Regions from separate parts of the Homo sapiens genome. Here region 2 is linked to region 1. Evidence: promoter capture Hi-C in 16 types of primary human blood cells and fetal thymus (Javierre and others, 2016). All regions are on one chromosome and are shown on one strand. Each heading gives the region's core, a stretch centred on a gene start or on the middle of the fragment in contact. The rest is flanking DNA. Distances are from core to core; before and after follow the strand shown.

Region 1 (3,095 bases), core at 194-2,693:
GCAAGAAAAATCCTCTTTAAAACCAAACTGGAGGTCCTGAGATACTCCAGGCCTACTTGTGCAAATGGGTAGAAACAAGCAGAGAGGAGCAGTTGTCTATTACGCTGTATTCAAGGGAAATATTTGTTCAGGAATAGTGATTTTCAAATGAGATGGTAAAATTCGTAACAACTCATCTAAAATCATTAATCAAGCCAGAAAACGTTTATGAGTTCTTGCCTTGTTTTTAAAAGGCTTTAAGTAAAAACCAAATGTTATAAAGATTTTCTGAGACTTCTCACCCACCAACTTTCTCTTTATTAGAATTATTACTTCATCATTATTTTAAAGTTACATACATTCATAAAAATTAATTTACCCTGAAATGAAAAGTCCATTTTATCATTATGTGTCCTATGCTTGCGTTTTAAAATCAGAAAAAAATTCCTTAAGATAAAAGTGATTCTTTTTTCCTTTCTTTTTGTTTTAATATTCCAAAATTGGATGAATTGGGACATTGCTTTTATTCTCAGGTTCGCTAGCTTACCTTGCTAGGAACTAGGGAGTTTTACCTTCAACTCTTATTTTCCTAGTTTTGCTTAAAATGAAAGGTGAATATGTGTGTGTGTGTGTGTGTGTGTATGATCTTTTATGTATAATTAAATTTATTACCTCTCAAGTAATCTACTTTGAAAAGAGAGTCCTATCTCTTAAAAATCAGTGTCTTCTTGCTTTATTGATTTTTCTTTAGAGGGTGGGGACATAAAAGGCTACCAGGAAAAAAATGTCATAGTGGAATCAACCCTGCATTTAGTCTTGGGCACACAAAAGAATCCACAGGTCTAGGTAGCATAACATGGTGGATAAGAGGAGGAACTCTGCGACCAGGTGACTTGGGTTTGAATCCCAGTTCTATCACGCTCTAGTTGTGTGATGTTGGCCAAGTTATTTAACCTCTGTATGCCTTAGTTTCTTCATCTGCAAAATGGAGGTAATAGAAGCACATGCTCATAAGGTTGTTGTGAGGTTTAAATGTAGTAATTATAAATAAATCATTTGAAAATTTCTTAGCACAAAATGAGAAGTGCGTGTGTGTGTGTGTATGTGTGTAGCAGTTTTTATTTTCAATCATTTTCTGCAGTCACAAGTGAAAGTAAGTTAAATGATGACTCAGTTAACCAATGTTCAAATTAACTGATGCTACCAAAGAACACGGACCTCAGTACCATGTTAGCTGCTTTTAAAGAGTCTACTCAAGCGCTTCCCTGGGCCTCATTATTGAACCACTACCAACATGTTCAAAAATAGAGAGAGGATTAGAAACCAAATCCTTCCAACATTTGCATCTCTAGATGTAGAGCTAAGAATTCTGAAATAAACAAATGCAGTGAATTTGGAAATGATACATCAATTGCTTCCTCCTATGACATCAATACTGGGAGTTATCAAGAGTCTGCCCATCAAATGCTAGGGAGATGTTTTCCTCCAGACACCAAAGAGAAGCAACAGCTCAGAATGACTAAACTCTGCGATCCTGCAGAAAGTGAATTGTCGCCATTTCTCATCACCTTAATTTTAGCAGTTTTACTTGCTGAATACCTCATTGGTATCATTGCAAATGGTTTCATCATGGCTATACATGCAGCTGAATGGGTTCAAAATAAGGCAGTTTCCACAAGTGGCAGGATCCTGGTTTTCCTGAGTGTATCCAGAATAGCTCTCCAAAGCCTCATGATGTTAGAAATTACCATCAGCTCAACCTCCCTAAGTTTTTATTCTGAAGACGCTGTATATTATGCATTCAAAATAAGTTTTATATTCTTAAATTTTTGTAGCCTGTGGTTTGCTGCCTGGCTCAGTTTCTTCTACTTTGTGAAGATTGCCAATTTCTCCTACCCCCTTTTCCTCAAACTGAGGTGGAGAATTACTGGATTGATACCCTGGCTTCTGTGGCTGTCCGTGTTTATTTCCTTCAGTCACAGCATGTTCTGCATCAACATCTGCACTGTGTATTGTAACAATTCTTTCCCTATCCACTCCTCCAACTCCACTAAGAAAACATACTTGTCTGAGATCAATGTGGTCGGTCTGGCTTTTTTCTTTAACCTGGGGATTGTGACTCCTCTGATCATGTTCATCCTGACAGCCACCCTGCTGATCCTCTCTCTCAAGAGACACACCCTACACATGGGAAGCAATGCCACAGGGTCCAACGACCCCAGCATGGAGGCTCACATGGGGGCCATCAAAGCTATCAGCTACTTTCTCATTCTCTACATTTTCAATGCAGTTGCTCTGTTTATCTACCTGTCCAACATGTTTGACATCAACAGTCTGTGGAATAATTTGTGCCAGATCATCATGGCTGCCTACCCTGCCAGCCACTCAATTCTACTGATTCAAGATAACCCTGGGCTGAGAAGAGCCTGGAAGCGGCTTCAGCTTCGACTTCATCTTTACCCAAAAGAGTGGACTCTGTGACCAGCACCCAAGAAGACCACAGGACCTGGCCTTACCAGCTCTGCCATTCCCTCACCTAGACCTCTCTTTTCTCTCTTCTTTTCTTCTCCAACCCTCATCTGACCCTTTTCGCCTGATGTGGCTTTTTATATAGGAAATTGATCATTTCTTTTTTGCTTCATGGGTACAATCTTAGTGGTACTGTCATATTCTTTACCTGAGCCCTCTACCTCCCCTTGCTCTGTTTAAAGCAGTGATTCTAAGCACTGGCTACCCATTAGAATCTCTAGGTTGATTTTTGAAAATACCAATGTTCAAACCCAATCTCAGATCTATTAAGTCAGAATTTCTAGTGTTAGAACTCACACAATTTTCTAAGATCTCCAGGTGATTCTGCTGTGCAGCAGGGTTGTATAGCCACCAAAATAGAAGAATGTTCTGAAACTAGTTCCTGACAACTCTCTTTCTCCCTCCACATGCCTTTTAAACACATTTAGATAACTTGGGAAGTTTTCTGAGCAGAAGTTTGAAATGCATTTTGTCTCCATCTTTCAAAGATATAACCAAAATAATGTGGAACTATTTATCAAAATTAATAATGCATAAAACACCTTTCATCCTAAAAATTACTAAGAATTTTTTCTAAGCATGGTTTT
Region 2 (3,398 bases), core at 312-2,811, 120 kb before region 1:
ACAGGCCACCACCAGCTTCACACACACTGGACCATTCGTGATGGTTGGGTAGCGCAGGGGGTGGCAGATGGCCACGTAGCGATCAAAGGCCATGACCATGAGTATCAGGAAGTTGGCAGAGCCCAGGGAGAAGTAAAAGAAAGACTGGGTTAGGCATTTGGCCAGGGACATGGTCTTGTGAGTGGATAGCAGGTCTGCCAGCATCCTATGTACCACAGTGGAGGTGACCACCATCTCCATGAGGGAGAAGTTGCAGAGGAAGAAGTACATGGGTGAGTGAAGGCGGGAATCAAGGCAAATGAAGCTGATGATGGCCAGGTTGCCCAGCAGCATCAGCACATATATCAACAGGATCAGAGCAAACAGCAGAACCTGGAACTCATGGAGATAAGAAAATCCAAGGAGCTCCTCTGCCTAGGAAAACCAGAGACCTTTGTTCACTTGTTTATCTGCTGACCTTCCCTCCACTATTGTCCTATGACCCTGCCAAATCCCCCTCCACGAGAAACACCCAAGAATGATCAATTAAAAAAAAAAAAAAAAAAGAAAATCCCAGGAGCACAAACTCCCTGACAATGCTGTAGTTACCCATTGCACTTGATGCCCATTCTATGTGACACCTGTGAGAGGTTGAGAACTGTTAGCAGGAGATTGCCATCAACCTCTCTCTCAATCAGGTCCCCATAGTGCTGGCCTGGCTCCCCATGCACACTAGCCTGTGTGCACAGTTGACCCCAGGAGACACATTCCCAAAAGGCAGGAGTTTCCCTGGGGCGAGGAATGGATTACTGGCTGGGATGAGCAGATTTATGACTTGGCCACCTCTACATTATCACCATTCTTAAGCTCTTCCTCTTCTGTCTTCTACTCATTGATTATATTGTACAACACACTTAATAAGCTCCAACTCTGTGCAAGACATTTGGCTGGGTCTGAGGATGAAGGGGTAAACACTTCCTAACTGCCAAATGTAATGGTCTGTTGTTCAAATAATAGCTGATATTTACTGTTCTTTCCCTGTGCCAGAAGATGCGCTAGATACCTTACACATTATTTCCTTCCATCTTTTTTGCTGAATCTTCATCCTCTTTTCTTCTCTATAACATTTTCTTCTCTATAACATTTCAGGCTACAAATAACCCGTTTTTGAAGTGACTTCCACCCTTGACTGCAAGGACCCTGCACTCTTGAATTTCTCCTACCATCCTGGGTTCCCTCGTCTGTCTCCTTCTCTAGCTCCCTGTCTTTCTGCCATTTTCTAAACATGGATGACCCCACATTTCTTTTCTTATCTTTGTTTAAAAAAATTCTCTATTTTCTCCTTCAGAAATCTCACCTTCTTTAACCAAAGCAATCTTTAAAATGTAAATGAATTTCAAATCTGGATTTTGTCCTCCTCTGAGTCCCGGCCCACATCTCTAACCACCAGATTGACCACCACCACACATTCAACACATCTAAAGATACACACCTAGTCCTCCCCTCCCGCAAAGGCCATGTTTATGGCTCCCAATTCCCCAGTCATCTGGGCTGGAAACTGGAAGCATCTAGCCCTCCTTTGTTTATCCATATCCACCACCCTAGTTCAAGGATCTGTTTCCTCTTAACCATTGCAACAACACTCTTAATTTTTTTTTTATTGGTAGATTGCTCAATCACCAACCTATCCAGGCACCATGCTGCTATTATATTTTATTTTCTTAAGTTATTGTGTCAATCAACTGTTTTTAATAATCTGTAACAAGGCCGGGCATGGTGGCTCACGCCTGTAATCCCAGCACTTTGGGAGGCTGAGGGCGGGTGGATCATCTGAGGTCGGGAGTTCGAGACCATCGTGGCCAACATGGAGAAACCCCATCTCTACTAAAAATACAAAATTAGCCGAGTGTGGTGGTGTGTGCCTGTAATCCCAGCTACCCAGGAGGCTGAGGCAGAAGAATCGCTTGAATCTAGGAGGTGGAGGTTGCAGTGAGCTGAGATCATGCCATTGCACTCCAGCCTGGGCAACAAGAGCAACACTCTATCTCAAAAATAAATAAATAAATAAAAATAACCTGTAACAATGAGATTTCATTTATAATTACTTTCAAAATCAATCAAACTAGCTAGCCATCTATCTTCATCCAGAAAAAGAGTAAAAGGATGCATTTTAAAATATTAACAATGGCTATATCTGGGTGTGGGTTATAGGAGTTTACTTTTAAAAATCTTGTATTGAAATTATACATATTTAAACTGTTGTATTAGTCTGTTCTCACGCTGCTATAAGGACACACCCAAGACTGGGTAATTTATAAAGAAAAGAGGTTTAATTGACTGACAGTTTGGCATGGCTGGGGAGGCTTCAGGAAACCTATGATCATGGCCGAAGGGGGAGCAAACACGTCCTTCTTCACATGGCAGCAGCAAGGAGAAGTGCAGAGCACAGGAGTGAAAAAGCCCCTTATAAAACTATCAGATCTCGTGAGAACTTACTCTCTATCACGAGAACAGCATGGAGGTAACCACCCCCATGAGTCAATTACCTCCCACTGGGTCCCTCCCACAACATGTGGGGATTATGGGAACTACAATTCAAGATGAGATTTGCGTGGGGACACAGCCAAACCATATGAAATGTATATCATGAGGTTTGGATAGAAATATACATAGTAAACTTATTACGACAGTCAAGCTAATTAATATATCCATCTCTTCATATAGTTACCATTTTTCACATGTAGTGAGATGACCTAAGATCTACCCTCTTAGCAAATGTCAAGTATACAATACAGTATCATTACCTGTAATCCCCATGCTGAACATTAGTTCGCTAGAACTTATTCTTCCTGCCCAACTGAAACCTTGTACCCTCTGTTCTTCTATATGTCCACATTCATTTCCAAATTCTCTTCATTTAAATTTGAATTCTCTTCATATATTATTTTAGTGATAAAAAAATTAACAACAATAATCTCTTCCTTTTTCAGTCAAATCAAGCACAGATTCTCCCTGGCAACTCCTGCCCTACATGACTCTCCCCATTCACCACCCCCCATAGCTTCACCCCCACCTCCTTGTCACACACTTTGTGATACCACTGAACTGAACCCTTGATATTCTCCATAAGTTAATTCCACTTTGCCTTCACACACTTCCCTTTTTATTCCTGTGCTTAGAATACTTTGTTCTGCCATCTTTGCCTGGCAAATTCTTAATCACCCACCAGGGACTATCTCAAATGTCCCCTCCTTTATGAAGCTTCATCCTCATCCAGATGTGAAGTCATCCTGCCTGGAGTTCCCAATCAGGAAAGTTAACAAGATCTGCCTTGCATTATAATTGTGTACAGTCAGATTCCAAATCCTGGATTCCTAGTTTCTCAGTGTCAGGGCTCTTTTTTCATCTTTATAACCTTC

What was found. The method cuts DNA at HindIII sites, captures the fragments that hold promoters and counts their contacts. A CHiCAGO score of 5 or more calls a contact.
Region 2: a fragment that was not itself captured here is called in contact with the fragment with the promoter of TAS2R39 in region 1 in 2 of 17 cell types (M2 macrophages and monocytes); the score reaches 5.3 in M2 macrophages.

What each region holds. Positions count from the first base shown.
Region 1 is chr7:143,181,976-143,185,070 of GRCh38, forward strand. It overlaps TAS2R39 (taste 2 receptor member 39), which reads left to right and starts at 1,444. Exons shown (of 1, transcript NM_176881.2): 1 at 1,444-2,460. The coding sequence starts at 1,444. The coding sequence ends at 2,460. The HindIII fragment of the contact is 8,536 bases long and covers 1-3,095 here.
Region 2 is chr7:143,062,994-143,066,391 of GRCh38, forward strand. It overlaps the pseudogene OR6W1P. Among named protein-coding and RNA genes, the nearest start is that of OR6V1, 12 kb to the left of the region's middle. The HindIII fragment of the contact is 3,354 bases long and covers 1-3,238 here.